3 separate regions of the Homo sapiens genome follow, and regions 1 and 3 are each linked to region 2. Evidence: promoter capture Hi-C in human tissues and cell types (Jung and others, 2019). All regions are on one chromosome and are shown on one strand. The core of a region is centred on a gene start or on the middle of the fragment in contact, and the rest is flanking DNA. Distances in the headings are between cores, read along the strand shown. Region 1 has its middle 36 kb from the start of RNF135. Region 2 holds the start of OMG (oligodendrocyte myelin glycoprotein). Region 3 overlaps ADAP2 (ArfGAP with dual PH domains 2).

What was found. The method cuts DNA at HindIII sites, captures the fragments that hold promoters and counts their contacts. A contact is called where the count stands out against the background at its distance.
Region 1: a contact is called between a fragment that was not itself captured here and the fragment with the promoter of OMG in region 2, in 1 of the 25 tissues and cell types used here (dorsolateral prefrontal cortex).
Region 3: a fragment that was not itself captured here is called in contact with the fragment with the promoter of OMG in region 2 in 1 of the 25 tissues and cell types used here (lymphoblastoid cells).

The regions. Positions count from the first base shown.
Region 1 is chr17:31,004,443-31,009,082 of GRCh38, reverse strand. It overlaps the pseudogene LOC107984974. Among named protein-coding and RNA genes, the nearest start is that of RNF135, 36 kb to the right of the region's middle. RefSeq lists a silencer at 215-264 and an enhancer at 309-810. The HindIII fragment of the contact is 7,448 bases long and covers 1-4,640 here.
Region 2 is chr17:31,295,223-31,299,775 of GRCh38, reverse strand. OMG (oligodendrocyte myelin glycoprotein) reads left to right here and starts at 2,537. Exons shown (of 2, transcript NM_002544.5): 1 at 2,537-2,620; 2 at 3,439-4,553. The coding sequence starts at 3,445. The region is part of intron 36 of NF1 (neurofibromin 1); the gene reads right to left. The HindIII fragment of the contact is 15,224 bases long and covers 1-4,553 here.
Region 3 is chr17:30,946,711-30,951,345 of GRCh38, reverse strand. It overlaps ADAP2 (ArfGAP with dual PH domains 2), which reads right to left. Exons shown (of 11, transcript NM_018404.3): 7 at 1,976-2,059. Among named protein-coding and RNA genes, the nearest start is that of RNF135, 22 kb to the left of the region's middle. The HindIII fragment of the contact is 6,000 bases long and covers 1-4,635 here.

The DNA.
Region 1 (4,640 bases), core at 906-3,405, 290 kb after region 2:
CCAAGACTTTCGGACCTGAAATCCGCCTGCGATGCGAACCGATGTAACCTCCCCTCCACAAAAGACCACCCCCCCTCCCCAAGTCATCCTCGGCTTTTTAAAGAATGTCCAAACCGGAGCGAGTGGTTTTCCAATTACTCTCCCTGAACTAGGCCTTCCCATTCCTCCAACCCCCAACTCACCATTGATCGCGATCCTGGCCCTTCCCAAGTCAACAGGCACCCCCCGCCAGCTCGCCCACCCGGCGGCTGCCCAGCCCGGCCCGGCGCTCCCCCTCACCTGTCAGGTGCAGCTTGACGGGCCCGTTCCTCCGGCTTCCGGGGTTGGACATGTCCCCAGCGGCGGAGGCGGCGGGCAGGACGGGGACAGGGGCGACGGCGAGGCGCGGCGGAGTCACCACAGCGTCAGGGGCTGAGGCCCGAGCTTTTGGCGCTGCAACCGCCACGGCCGGAGGGTCCCGGACGTGCCGAGCGTAGTCGTCCTGAGCCGCGGAGGACGCGGGACGCCGAGCTCCCCGCTCCTCCCACTTCTCTTTCCTTGGTCTGGGCTGCACAACTAGGCGGCAGCCGGCCGCCCGCGCCTCCGCAGCATCCTCGCGGCCTCTGCGGCCTTTCCCTCCTCTCGTCTGGGCTAGGCCCAGTAGTCGACGGCGCTGGTCGGCTGAGGCAGGCGGTGCTCCGGCGGCGCCGGAGCAGGACTCTCGGCTTCTCCTCCTCCACCCGCCCTTTTGTCTGAGGGACCCGGGATTTTGCTTTTCCCTTATAGAAATGGTGGAGTCAGTGAAGAAATTAGCAGGGATGGATGTGGAGCTGACAGCTGAAGAAAGAAACCTCCTATCTGTTACATATAAGAATGTGATTGGAGCTAGAAGAGCCTCCTGGAGAATAATCAGCAGCCTTGAACAGAAAGAAGGAACAAGGGAGGAGAAGACAAGCTAAAAATGATTCGGAAATACCGGCAAATGGTGAGACTGTTGTACAACAGTCCCCCCTTATCCGCAGTTTGAGTTACCAGTGGTACAGTACAATAAGATATTTTTAGAGAAAAGAGACTACGTTCATGTAACTTCTATTAGAGTATGTTATAATTGTTCTGGTATTAATCTTTTTCTGTGCCTAGTTTATAAATTAAACTTTACCATGAGTATGTATGTACAGAACAAAACATAGTATATATAAAGTTTGGTGTTGTCCATGGTTTCAGCGTATCCACTGGGGGGGGTCTCAGAATGGATCCCTCTCAGATAAAAGGGAACTATCGTATTTTCAAGAAAAATGATGATGATGTGTTTTGGGTTAAATTTGTCCCATTCTTCTTTTTATTGAAAGACTAAGGTTTTTTTTTTTTTTTTTCTAATCCAATATCGTTGTTTTTAATCTCTGGGTTTTATACAACAGAAATTATCTGGGGGAAGGAAGCTCTTGTTACCTGAATATGTCCTAATTTTTGTCTCTTATTTTTATGGTTTTAGAAAATGTCTCTGAAAAGGGAGGCTTGTTTCTGTTGAGTGTCTGGCTTAGTTCTCAGGCTTATGTCTGTCAGTAATTTGGCCATAGTTGTTGGCATTCGAGGTCACAGCCTAGTGCTCACATGACTGTATATGTAGTACACATTTTATATCTTGGTAGAGTTGTGTCTTTTGCTCACGTGGATTAGGCTATAGAATATTCCACGGCAGAGGCGAATAACTTTTTCTCCTGGAAGCTGCAGTAGTGGGCAAAAAAGTGAGACCCTGTCCCTAAAAATAAAGTTGTAAAGCTTGGCCGGGTGCAGTGGCTCACGCCTGTAATCCCAGCACTTTGGGAGGCCAAGGCGGGTGGATCACAAGGTCAGGAGATCGAGACCATCCTGGCTAACACGGTGAAACCCCGTCTCCACTAAAAAAAAAAAAAAAAAAAAAAAAAAAAAAATTCTCCAGGCGTGGTGGTGGGCGCCTGTAGTCCCAGCTACTCCGGAGGCTGAGGCAGGAGAATGGCGTGAGCCCGGGAGGCGGAGCTTGCAGTGAGCCGAGATTGCGCCACTGCACTCCAGCCTGGGCAACACAGCGAGACTCCGTCTCAAAATAAATAAATAAATAAAAAAGTTGTAGGCTGGGATTGATGTTACCATTACTATGAAATATGTTGGGTCAAAGAATTTCGATGACCAATAGACAAGTTTTGTGTCCCAGAGGAATGAGGAAGTAAGAAAGTTCAAAGTGCTGAAGAAAGAAGTCCATGAGCTACACTGTGGGACTTGGGCTAGCTAGGAAATGGAAGCAGGAAGCAAAGAGAGCAACTGATAAATTGGGAGAAGATGTGAAAAGTTCAAGTCTGGATGTCTTAGGTGAGATATATGCATAAGAAAGAAAGAAAGAGGAGAGAGAGAGAGAGAGGGAGAGAGAGAGAGAGAAAAGAAGGAAAAGAAAGAGAAAGAAAGAGAAGAAAGGGAAAGAAAGAAAGAGAGGAAAGAAAGAGAAAGAAAGGAAAGAAAGAAAGAAAGAAAGAAAGAAAGAAAGAAAGAAAGAAAGAAAGAAAGAAAGAAAGGGAGAGAGTGTAGATGTCTTGATGAGTCCCTAAGTAGAAACACGAAGAGAAAAGGAACTAAAAGAGGAAGCCACGGCCAAGAGTGGAGCATTACAATGTTAAGACTTCTAGTATGGAGCAGCACAGTTAGGGGTATGGACAAGTGCAAGTCTTGGAGTAGAAAGCAAAGAACTCTGTTGAATGGAACGTGGCCACACCATACCTTGGTGTGATCTCAGGTTTTGGATAGGTTGGCTGTAGATAGTCATTGAATGTGGGAGAACAGCCTAGAGAGCTATTAATGACAGAAACTGACAAATAGAATGTAGAATATTAGCTTGTGAGGAGGAAGGGTTTGGAGTAACAGGAAAGTAGTCATTGAGTATGTGAGGAGCTAGGAGAACATGGAAATCTTTCTTCTCCTACAGCAGTCTCTATCTGAAAAACCATCAGGGAGATAGTTTATTCAGAAAATAGTTTTGCTTAGCTAAGATAAGGATGCAATTTCGGAAGAAAGAATGAAAGAATGTTTTACAGTGGAAAGCAGGTTCCAGGGCCATGAGAGGAACCTCGAAAGGTTCAACAGTAGTGCCATGAGTTCATAGAAAATAGGAAGCAAGCGGCCAGGCACAGTGGGTCACGCCTGTAAATCTCAGCACTATGGGAGGCCGAGGCAGGCGGATCACGGGGACAGGAGATAGTGACCATCCTGGCTAACATGGTGAAACTCTGTCTCTACTAAAAAAAAAAAAAAAAAAATTAGCCGGGCATGGTGGTGGTGCCTATAGTCCCAGCTACTCGGGAAGCTGAGGCAGGAGAATGGCGTGAACCCGGGAGGCGGAGGTTGCAGTGAGCTGAGATTGCGCCATTGCACTCCAGCCTGAGGGACAAAGCAAAACTCCATCTCAAAATAATAATAATAATAACATAAAATAAAATAAAAATAAGGCCAGCACAGTGGCTCACCCCTGTAATCCCAGCACTCTGGGAGGCCAAGGCGGGTGGATCACTTGAGGTCAGGAGTTCAAGACCAGCCTGGCCAACACTGGGAAACCTGGTCTCTACTAAAAATGTAAAAAATTAGCCAGGCATGATGGCACATGCCCATAATCCCAGCTACTCAGGAGGCTGAGGCAGGAGAATCACTTGAACCTGGGAGACGGAGGTTGCAGTGAGCCGAGATTGTGCCACTGCACTCCAGCCTGGGTGATAGAGCGAGACTGTCTCAAAAACAAAACAAAACAAAATAGTATTTGAGAGAGAAGCAAGGGACAGATAGATATAACTATTTTAGAGGTTTCCTCAAGCCTAACAAGATGGTGGCTTCCTGCTTAGCAGGTGGTCTTCCAGGAACCCAAAGCCCCGGACCCAATAGTGGGTTCAACAGAACTATCCAGCAGCTGCTTCACCAGAGTGTGTGAGGTGGAAGAGAAGAGAGAAGGACAGAAGCAGCCCATGGCACTGATGAGAACACTCCATTCTCCTCAACCCCCAGGAAAAAAAAACACTTGAGAGACAAGGCCTGATAGAAAACAAATTTTTGAGAACAATGTCCCCAGATAGCGCAGAAAGCTGCCAAAGGAGTTCCTCGTGCTCTCCTATGAAGCAGTGTGTCTCCGCTATAGACTGAATGTTTGTGTTCTCCCAAAATTCATGTACTGAAATCCTAACTCCCAATATGACAGTCCTGGGAGGTGATTGGGTCATGAAGATAGAGCCTTCATGAATGAGATTAGTGACCTTATAAAAGGGACTGTAATCCTAGCACTTTGGGAGGCTGAGTTGGGTGGATCACCAGAGGTCAGGAGTTCAAGACCAGCCTAGCCTAGCCAACATGGTGAAACCCCGTCTGTACTAATAAATACAAAAATTAGCTGGGTATGGTGGCAGGCACCTATAATCCCAGCTACTCAAGAGGCTGAGGCAGGAAGAATTGCTTGAACCTGGGAGGCAGAGGTTGCAGTGAGCCCAGGTCACACCACTTCACCCCAGCCTGGGTGATAGAGCAAGACTCTGTCTCAAAAAAAAAAAAAAAAAAAAAAAAACGGCGGGGGAACTCCTGAGAGCTCCCTCACTAGACACCAAATCTGCCAGCACCTTGATTTTGGACTTCCCAGCCTCCAGAACTATGAGAAA
Region 2 (4,553 bases), core at 1,288-3,787:
TGATTCATTTGGATTTTGACTTGGTAATTTCTATGTTGTTATTTCTTTCATGCTTTTAAAGTACTTTATTGAGTACTCTCAGTTGTATTCAGCAGGAAAATCAGTCTAAATAGCCAACCATATTACCAAAAATAAACAATATCTGACTCTCAAGCATAGCAAATGTTACCTATAATAATGGAAAACTGAAACCACTGATTAGCGTGGGATAGCTATTCCTTGGCAGATGCTTTGTGATACCTTTCACAATGTTGGGGTAATATATCCTAGGACACAAAAGAATACGTAAATTAATTTACTGCTTAATCTAGAATGTAAAAGTTGCCTAACTATCATTACTGACCTAGACAGCCTAATAGAAAATGTAATGAGTCTGAATAATATTTAAAATAAGTTGTAACACATACTTATGCCTCTAAAAAATATTTTTTTTGAGTAACAGTAATACAGTATTATTTTATTTCATGAGAATTTCTTTTATTTATTTATTTATTTTTATTATACTTTAAGTTTTAGGGTACATGTGCACAACGTGCAGGTTAGTTACATATGTATACATGTGCCATGCTGGTGTGCTGCACCCAGTGTAAGAGATTGTTAGAATTCAAATATATTGAAATGATCTCCCTTTTTCTTTTTGAGAATTTTACAATAATCTTTGAATAATATGAAGCAATTTGGTATGTCCCAAACTTGAAATGAGAAACATTGCCACTACTATTGCACTGGAATTTTCTATTATATACAACAGAAACTAAACTTGATACAGCCTAAACCCAAATTCATTTGAATCCATTAATGAAGTAACATGTCTTTTCTTTCAAACAAAAGTACTGTTAAGTGTAATGAAAATGCATAACTCTACTTCTACACTGACTTAATGAGGTTTCCTAAAATTAAGAGATTTAAGTGGTCGGTAAATTGACCCTCAGTCACATCTTTAGAAGTGCAGCAGTGTATATATGAGCTTAAATAGAACTCTAAATGTCAATGCATTCCCTATTTCCACAATATTGCTGAATGTAGTATTTTTAACACATTATTTTAAGCACTATGATTGATGGCTGGTTTCCTAAATCCACAGTAAGAATCCAATTGAGAGTTCAACTGAACCCTCAAAGTAAAGTGGCAATAAAGCACCCAATCAACAATAAACTTCTATGTTGCGGACTCTTAAAATGCAGATACTTTTCGAGGAACATTAGTTTTATACAAAAGGTGGCTCCTAGAGTATAGTTTCTCTTGTAAGAAAATAAACTTCAAATTTTAATACAACAAATTCTATTTGTGGTATAATCTAAATAATGCTAATATAATTTAGAGAAAAACAAACGATTTAGTAACAAGGCATAAAGAGACTTTCCTTACACATAACATGCTAAATATTACTCGTTTTTAAATGGTGCCACTTGGTAACGAAAATACCGTAACTTTATTTGCTTTCTTTAAACTTGCCATTCTGGAAATCAGATTTGTGTTTTAACAGATTTACACAAGCAGTCCACTGAAGAGTGGAGCAAAATTTATCATAAATCTGATCTCACTTTATAAAACTCATGATGAAAAATTTTCCTTTTATATCATTTCATGTAATTTTAAAACTATAAACTACTTTCCCAGAAAGATGAAATGTGCAACACTCTGAAATCACCTAAATTGATACTGCTATTCTTAAAACATAAAATCAAATAAATGGTCATTCATACAGCACCAAAAATGTCTTTGGAAAAAACAATACTCATATCCACTTACCACCCAAGGTTGCATAAAGAAAAAAAACTTTAACTCCAAATATATAAAATAAAACATGTTTATTTTACATAGGAACTGATAATCTGAAGTATAAGATGCTAATTTCCAAATGTATCCTGGCTTGTGTGTAGCCTTGGTCAAATGATCATTGTATCAGAAAGATAAAGAAAAAATAATCGTATTTCAGTACTTCTATACATCCTAAAAGGGAAGACGGAACACTTAAGTGGTTGATAAATTTGAAAAGCTGATTAAACATAATAATCACCATGTTGGGGGAAGACATAAAAGTCATAAAACAGATTTTTTATAATATTAAAAAAGTGACATGAAAATTATACAATTTTAGAAAGGAATATAAAAAGGCAGGAGTTAAAAAATAGTGGGACTAATATCATAGAAAACTATCCATGAGGAAGGTCAAATTTATTTTCAACATGTAAAAAGGATAAAGAGTAGAGGTATTTTAAAAATTCACAGATTCTTAATGAGGCAAATGTTAAAATATGGAACCCAATCTCAGACAAATACATAGAAAGGAGTAAGGGCCAACTCTCATGCATAAGGTATCCCATCCTATAGCAAATCAGATATATAGGTACGCTTGATGCCACAAATTTTTTAAAAAATTGTCCATTTTGTTGCGTGTGCACCTCTTGCCATAAATTTGAGTCAGCACCAGCGACAGCTCTGCAGTCCTCCTATGTGGTACTGATCAGGTGGTTGCAGAGCTTCAGCTCACAGCAACACAATGCAGCTGAGCAGGCAAGCACAGCCCACAGCCAGAAACAGTTCCGACTCTACAGAACAAGACGACCTTTAAGTTTCCCAGAGAAAATGAGATGCTGATGTTGAAGACGACACCACGGTAAGATGTTATTTAAATCAGTAAAAGGCTGACTTTGGAATCTTTTTCCTTTTTCTTTTAAGAAAAAGTCAACGTTAGGATTAAATATATATTCAATAGCAAGTGCATGCACCAGAAATTTGCTGCAGTGTCAGTTGAGGGATATTTTTTATACATTCAGTCACTCTGTAAATATACATATTGTTTTCCTTTAAAATGGGCACTGAAATATACAGAAAAAAATCACTTTATAAAATGTGAGGTTTATAGGTACTGTGTTGGTCTGGATTTTTCAAGTGCTTTTTACAAAGATATATTTATCCTAAAAACATACAGATAAAATTTCGAAGAACTGCTTTAATATCTAAATAAAATCTACCCTATATACACACATTGAATTACATTACTGCAGAGATTAAAAAAAAAAGACACGACAGCCATTTTTTCTCATCTGAGTAAGAAAGCATATCATCAAAAATAGTAATAGCCTACAACTGCAACTATTTATTTGCAAAGAATGCTATTTTATCATATTAAGGCTCTAGAAAGATAAATAAGAAAGAATATGGTTAGAAAAGGGGGGAGGGAGAGAGAAAATAAAGGAGAAAATGCAGGAGAGAGTAGGGAGAGAGTCTCTCTCTACCACATAGCCCAATTGAAGGATTAAGCATTTGGACTATAAATGAAGGGGAGCTTTGTTAGTTTAATCACTGGAACAATTATAAAAGGACTCGACAACAACGAGGTTTATTGAAAATTTTGCCTAATGCTAACTGACCCATGCAGATGCCTAAACTGTATTTGCATATTAAAAGAAGGGTGTATCTGTTTGTTTCTAGGCTTTGATGGAATATCAGATATTGAAAATGTCTCTCTGCCTGTTCATCCTTCTGTTTCTCACACCTGGTATTTTATGCATTTGTCCTCTCCAATGTATATGCACAGAGAGGCACAGGCATGTGGACTGTTCAGGCAGAAACTTGTCTACATTACCATCTGGACTGCAAGAGAATATTATACATTTAAACCTGTCTTATAACCACTTTACTGATCTGCATAACCAGTTAACCCAATATACCAATCTGAGGACCCTGGACATTTCAAACAACAGGCTTGAAAGCCTGCCTGCTCACTTACCTCGGTCTCTGTGGAACATGTCTGCTGCTAACAACAACATTAAACTTCTTGACAAATCTGATACTGCTTATCAGTGGAATCTTAAATATCTGGATGTTTCTAAGAACATGCTGGAAAAGGTTGTCCTCATTAAAAATACACTAAGAAGTCTCGAGGTTCTCAACCTCAGTAGTAACAAACTTTGGACAGTTCCAACCAACATGCCCTCCAAACTACATATCGTGGACCTGTCTAATAATTCTTTGACACAAATTCTTCCAGGTACATTAATAAACCTGACAAATCTCACACATCTTTACCTGCACAACAATAAGTTCACATTCATTCCAGACCAATCTTTTGACCAACTCTTTCAGTTGCAAGAGATAACCCTTTACAATAACAGGTGGTCATGTGACCACAAACAAAACATTACTTACTTACTGAAGTGGATGATGGAAACAAAAGCCCATGTGATAGGGACTCCATGTTCTACCCAAATATCATCTTTAAAGGAACATAACATGTATCCCACACCTTCTGGATTTACCTCAAGCTTATTCACTGTAAGTGGGATGCAGACAGTGGACACCATTAACTCTCTGAGTGTGGTAACTCAACCCAAAGTGACCAAAATACCCAAACAATATCGAACAAAGGAAACAACGTTTGGTGCCACTCTAAGCAAAGACACCACCTTTACTAGCACTGATAAGGCTTTTGTGCCCTATCCAGAAGATACATCCACAGAGACTATCAATTCACATGAAGCAGCAGCTGCAACTCTAACTATTCATCTCCAAGATGGAATGGTCACAAACACAAGCCTCACTAGCTC
Region 3 (4,635 bases), core at 832-3,331, 350 kb after region 2:
AGGGAAACCATTGGGAAAAAAAGGAAAGTCACATGGCTGGAGCACTGCTTCCTGTACTTCTGATGCCTTGGCTCGCTGGAGTCTCACAATAGCCCTAGAAAGTAGGTACTATCACCTAGGCAAGTCACCTCACCTCTCTGAGCCTCGATGCACTCATCTGTCACCATGGCGACAAAACCTACTTTCTCTGAAGTCCAAGAGACCATATGCATTTATTACAGGACCACAGACCCCACTGGGATGCCCTGGGTTTCCAACATGTGGACCCCTAAAGCTTGAGCCAGGCCTGGTGATTGCTCAGAACCTCACACCATACACAGACATTAAATGGGAGGAAAGACACGGGATGGATATCAGGTACCGACAGTGGATGAGAGAGGCAGGGGAACATTGAGGATGTTGACCAAAGAGCAATTTCCTTTACACATGTCAGCAAAGATGGGCAGCTTGCCCAGATTAAATAAGGCTGAGCATCTGCACTTTGTCCTCCCTCCTCATAGTCAGCAGTCAGCAGTCTCCACTCCCCGCCCATGGGAGCCAGCATTAACCAGTTCTGGGTGCAAACTCAGCAGACTGACTCAAGGGCTCTGACTCGGGCCTTGCTGGAATTGCTCCCAGAGAGCTGCCATCTCAGCACATCCCTGGGCCTGGAGGGGACCCTATTCCAGACAACTGGCTCCCTACAAACCTTGGAATTAAGGAGCATTTAGGCTTTCAAGGAAACTCTAATGGTTGAGATTAAGAAAATCCCAGCATTAAAATGGTTTTCCAGCCCCATCACTTATAAAATCCTCTTGGAGGGGAGCCTCTTGAAGAGGACCAGAGCATAGAATCTCAGAGGCGGAAGGGACCCTGAAGATGACCTGGACTAACCGCCATCTTACCCATATGGAAATAGAAGCTCAGAGGGGTGCCAGGACCTGCAGGGGTCACACAGCAAGTGAGCAATAGAGCATCCCTGAGAGCCCAGGCTTCCTGGCTCGAGACAGCATCCTCTGCCCTACACCATGCGGGTCTCCCTGGCCCAGCCTGAGATAGGGAGATGAAGGCCCCAGAAGTCTGGAGACAATCAAAATGAAGTTCTCGGCTCCCCATGATGTTGGCCATGAAGGGCATACCTGCTCCTGTTACAACTGTAATGGAGAGGATCCCAGGCTTTCCCAAGCCCAGAGCATCACAGGGCAAAGAGGGGATTTTAGAAAGGGAAGCACACCTTTGGTTATTCACCTGCCCTTCCTGGGACTGTATAACTCATCAGTGAAATGGAAATAATCACCCCTGCCTGGCTGCCATTTCACAAGACAAAATGGGCTCAAAGCACTCTGTAAGCAGTATGTTAGGGATCATTTGTACATTTTAGAGGGAGAAGGGTTCAGAAAGAGATGACCAATTGCTGAGCCCCTTGACACTCTTCTGAAGGGGAGACACTGACCAGCTTTTGGGAGGCCGCCTTGTCGTATGTGAGGCTGTAACCCCCGCAGGCTCCCCTGGAGAATGCCTTGGGCTTCCCTCTGAGCAGCCCAGCCCTCAACCTCGAGGTCTTGCCTGCAAACAAAACTAGTCTGGCTTCTTCTTCTTTTTTTTTTTTTTTTTTTTTGAGACGGAGTCTCACTCTGTCACCCAGGCTGGAGTGCAGCGGCGCCATCTGGGCTCACTGCAAGCTCCGCCTCCCGGGTTAACACCATTCTCCTGCCTCAGCCTCCCAAGTAGCTGGGACTACAGGCGCCTGCCACCACACCTGGCTAATTTTTTTGTATTTTTAGTAGAGACGGGGTTTCACCGTGCTAGCCAGGATGGTCTCGATCTCCTGACCTTGTGATCCGCCCGCCTCAGCCTCCCAAAGTGCTGGGATTACAGGCGTGAGCCACCGCGCCCAGCCCTAGTCTGGCTTCTGAGTGTCTTCGAGGTCAACAGACAGGGAAAGAAGGAGATGGCCAAGAGGAGATTCAGAAATTGGGGTCCGCATTTAGCTCACCTCAGACTCTGGGAGTTCAGGAAAGGCCATTTTTAGGTACTGCAGACGGGCTGCACGGAGGGCATTGAACCAGTCCACTATCTCCTGCGGAGAGAAGTGCACAGGACACACACACAGCAGTGAGATGGGGTGGGTGGGAAGCTACCTCTGGTGGCGGGAAGCTAGCTGGGCATTGGGTGTGGGGCACATATATTCAGCACCTGCACACACCCCACAGCTCGGCTCAGGGGCATCCAGGGAGGATTGTGTCAGAGCCTCGTGGGCTAACCCGGGCAAGCAGGAAGCCTCTGACAGGGATAACCCCAGAGCCCTGGAAAAGGATTGAGTGAACTGCATGGGAGTTCTGCAATGGCCTCGGACAGTGCTTTTCACCTTCTAATGCGTGCAAAATCACCTGAGGCTCTTGTTAAAATGCAGAGGCATATCCAGTAGGTTTGGAATGGGGCCCAAGACTCTGCATTCCTAACACGCTCTCAGGTGATATGATGCTGCTAGTCAGTGGAATGCACTCTAAGGAGCAAGGCTCTAGGAAATCATTGTCCTCAGATGTCAAAGATTGGCATTTGGGTGGGGAGCAGTTATGCCTGGGGATGCTCCTCTAATGAGGATGCTCATGGCAACTTAGGCCAAAGCTGGCTTGGCCCCTTCTGCTGTCACTCTGAGAGAACATGTCCCTCAGCAGCCTGGGCCACCTTCATCTCCCACATAGACAACCATGTATCTAGCTGGCCTTGATCAGCTGCTCTCTGACTGGCCCTCTCATGGCAGCCTGAGTGATTTTCCTTTATTTATTTTTTTTTAGATGGAGTCTCATGCTGTCGCCGAGGCTAGAGTGTGCAGTGGTGCGATCTTGGCTCACTGCAACCTCCGCCTTCTGGGTTCACACCATTCTCCTGCCTCAGCCTCCCGAGTAGCTGGGACTACAGGCGCCCACCACCACACGGCTAATTTTTTTTTTTTTTGTATTTTTAGTAGTGACAGGGTTTCACCACGTTAGCCAGGATGGTCTCGTGATCTGCCCGCCTCGGCCTCCCAAAGTGCTGGGATTACAGGCGTGAGCCACAGCGCCCAGCCTGTAGCCAGAGTGATTTTCTAATTACAAATCTAATCAGTCTGGCTTGGAGTCCTGTCTACTACCCTCAGAAAAAAAAGTCTTAAGTTCTTTACTATGATTTTGCTGTCTGAGCTCCTTCCATGCAAAACTATTTGCAATTCTCCCAACACCTACTGTTCCTTCCTCTCGGGACATTCTGCTTAGCCCGCTCCATCCCACACACACCTTTTACGCAAAACATTCCACTTATCCCGCAGGTTAGTTTTGATGTTGTAATAGATAGATTTTTGGTGCTTGCTCAGCCCAAGCCCTGCTTCTGTGAGAACTACCCCGCCTATCTTCACCCAACCCCAGTTGCAGCCCCATTTACTGCTGTGATCCTGCCCCTGCTTAACCACAGCAACTGGACCAGGCCTGGAGCAACACAGAGGCTGGACTGGGCTTATCAGATTCCTTCTCCCAGGAATTTGGAATTGGGAGGCTAAAGGCTTGTTCAAATAGTGGTAGTTTGTGACTTTGATATAATGTGGTGATTGAGAAAGTCATCTGAATATGGTTTAAAAGGAATGAAACCATTTCTCTTTCTCTCTCATAGGCGAAGCACACAGGCCTAGTATTCCAGGGATCTGTGCTCTCTTGTCCTGGGGTTCATTAAGGACCCTCTGGCCAGGTGCAGTGGCTCACGCCTGTAATCCCAACACTCTGGGAGGCCGAGGCGGGTGGATCACCTGAGGTCAGGAATTTGAGACCAGCCTGACCAACATGGTGAAACCCCATCTCTACTAAAAATACAAAATTAGCCGGGTATGGTGGTACATGCCTGTAATCTCAGCTACTCAAGAGGCTGAGGCTGGAGAATTGCTTTAACCTGGGAGGTGGAGGTTGCAGTGAGCCGAGATTGCACCACTGCACTCCAGTCTGGGTGACAGAGCGAGACTCTGTCTCAAAAAAAAACCTTAGGTCTCAGACACTAAGGGAATGGGGCCAGTCCAGAAAAGACACACCTAGGCCTTCACCTTGGAAGGTCTCTCCAGTCATAATCTGGTGATCCTGGTGCCAAATCCAACCTGCATACATGTCTGTTTGCTCCTAAAGTTTTGTTTGTTTCAATCCTCCATGCAGGTTTTCCTGTTTGCCACAGCCCCCTCCCCATCCCTTATGCCTGTCCATTTAGCTTTTAAATCACCCCCTGACTCCTGCAGGCAGGAATCTGGAGCCCTCATTTATGCCCATCTAACAGACAGGCTGGGGCATCAAGCAAAAGAGAAGAATGGCCAGACCCAGGTTGTCAGATGCACCATACTGGGCAGATAGGAGGGAGCTGGGTATCCTAAGTGCCAGAGACCTTGGGTGCCTCAGTAAAAGTCCTTATGGCAGTGATTGGCATGGAGAGGGGGCTAGGGCCATGGTGCTAGGGGCCCCTTAGGAAGGTCTAGTCCCTGCATCTGGTTCCTGGCTCCTGCTGCCAAGTGTCCTTCCTACAGCAGAGGCACATGGCAGGTAAAGTGGGTGCAGGGCTGTGACCCTGAGCAAGTTACTAACATGTCCGTGACTCAATAATGTGGGGCTTGTTTTCAGGATTAAGAAATGATGGACAGCAATCACC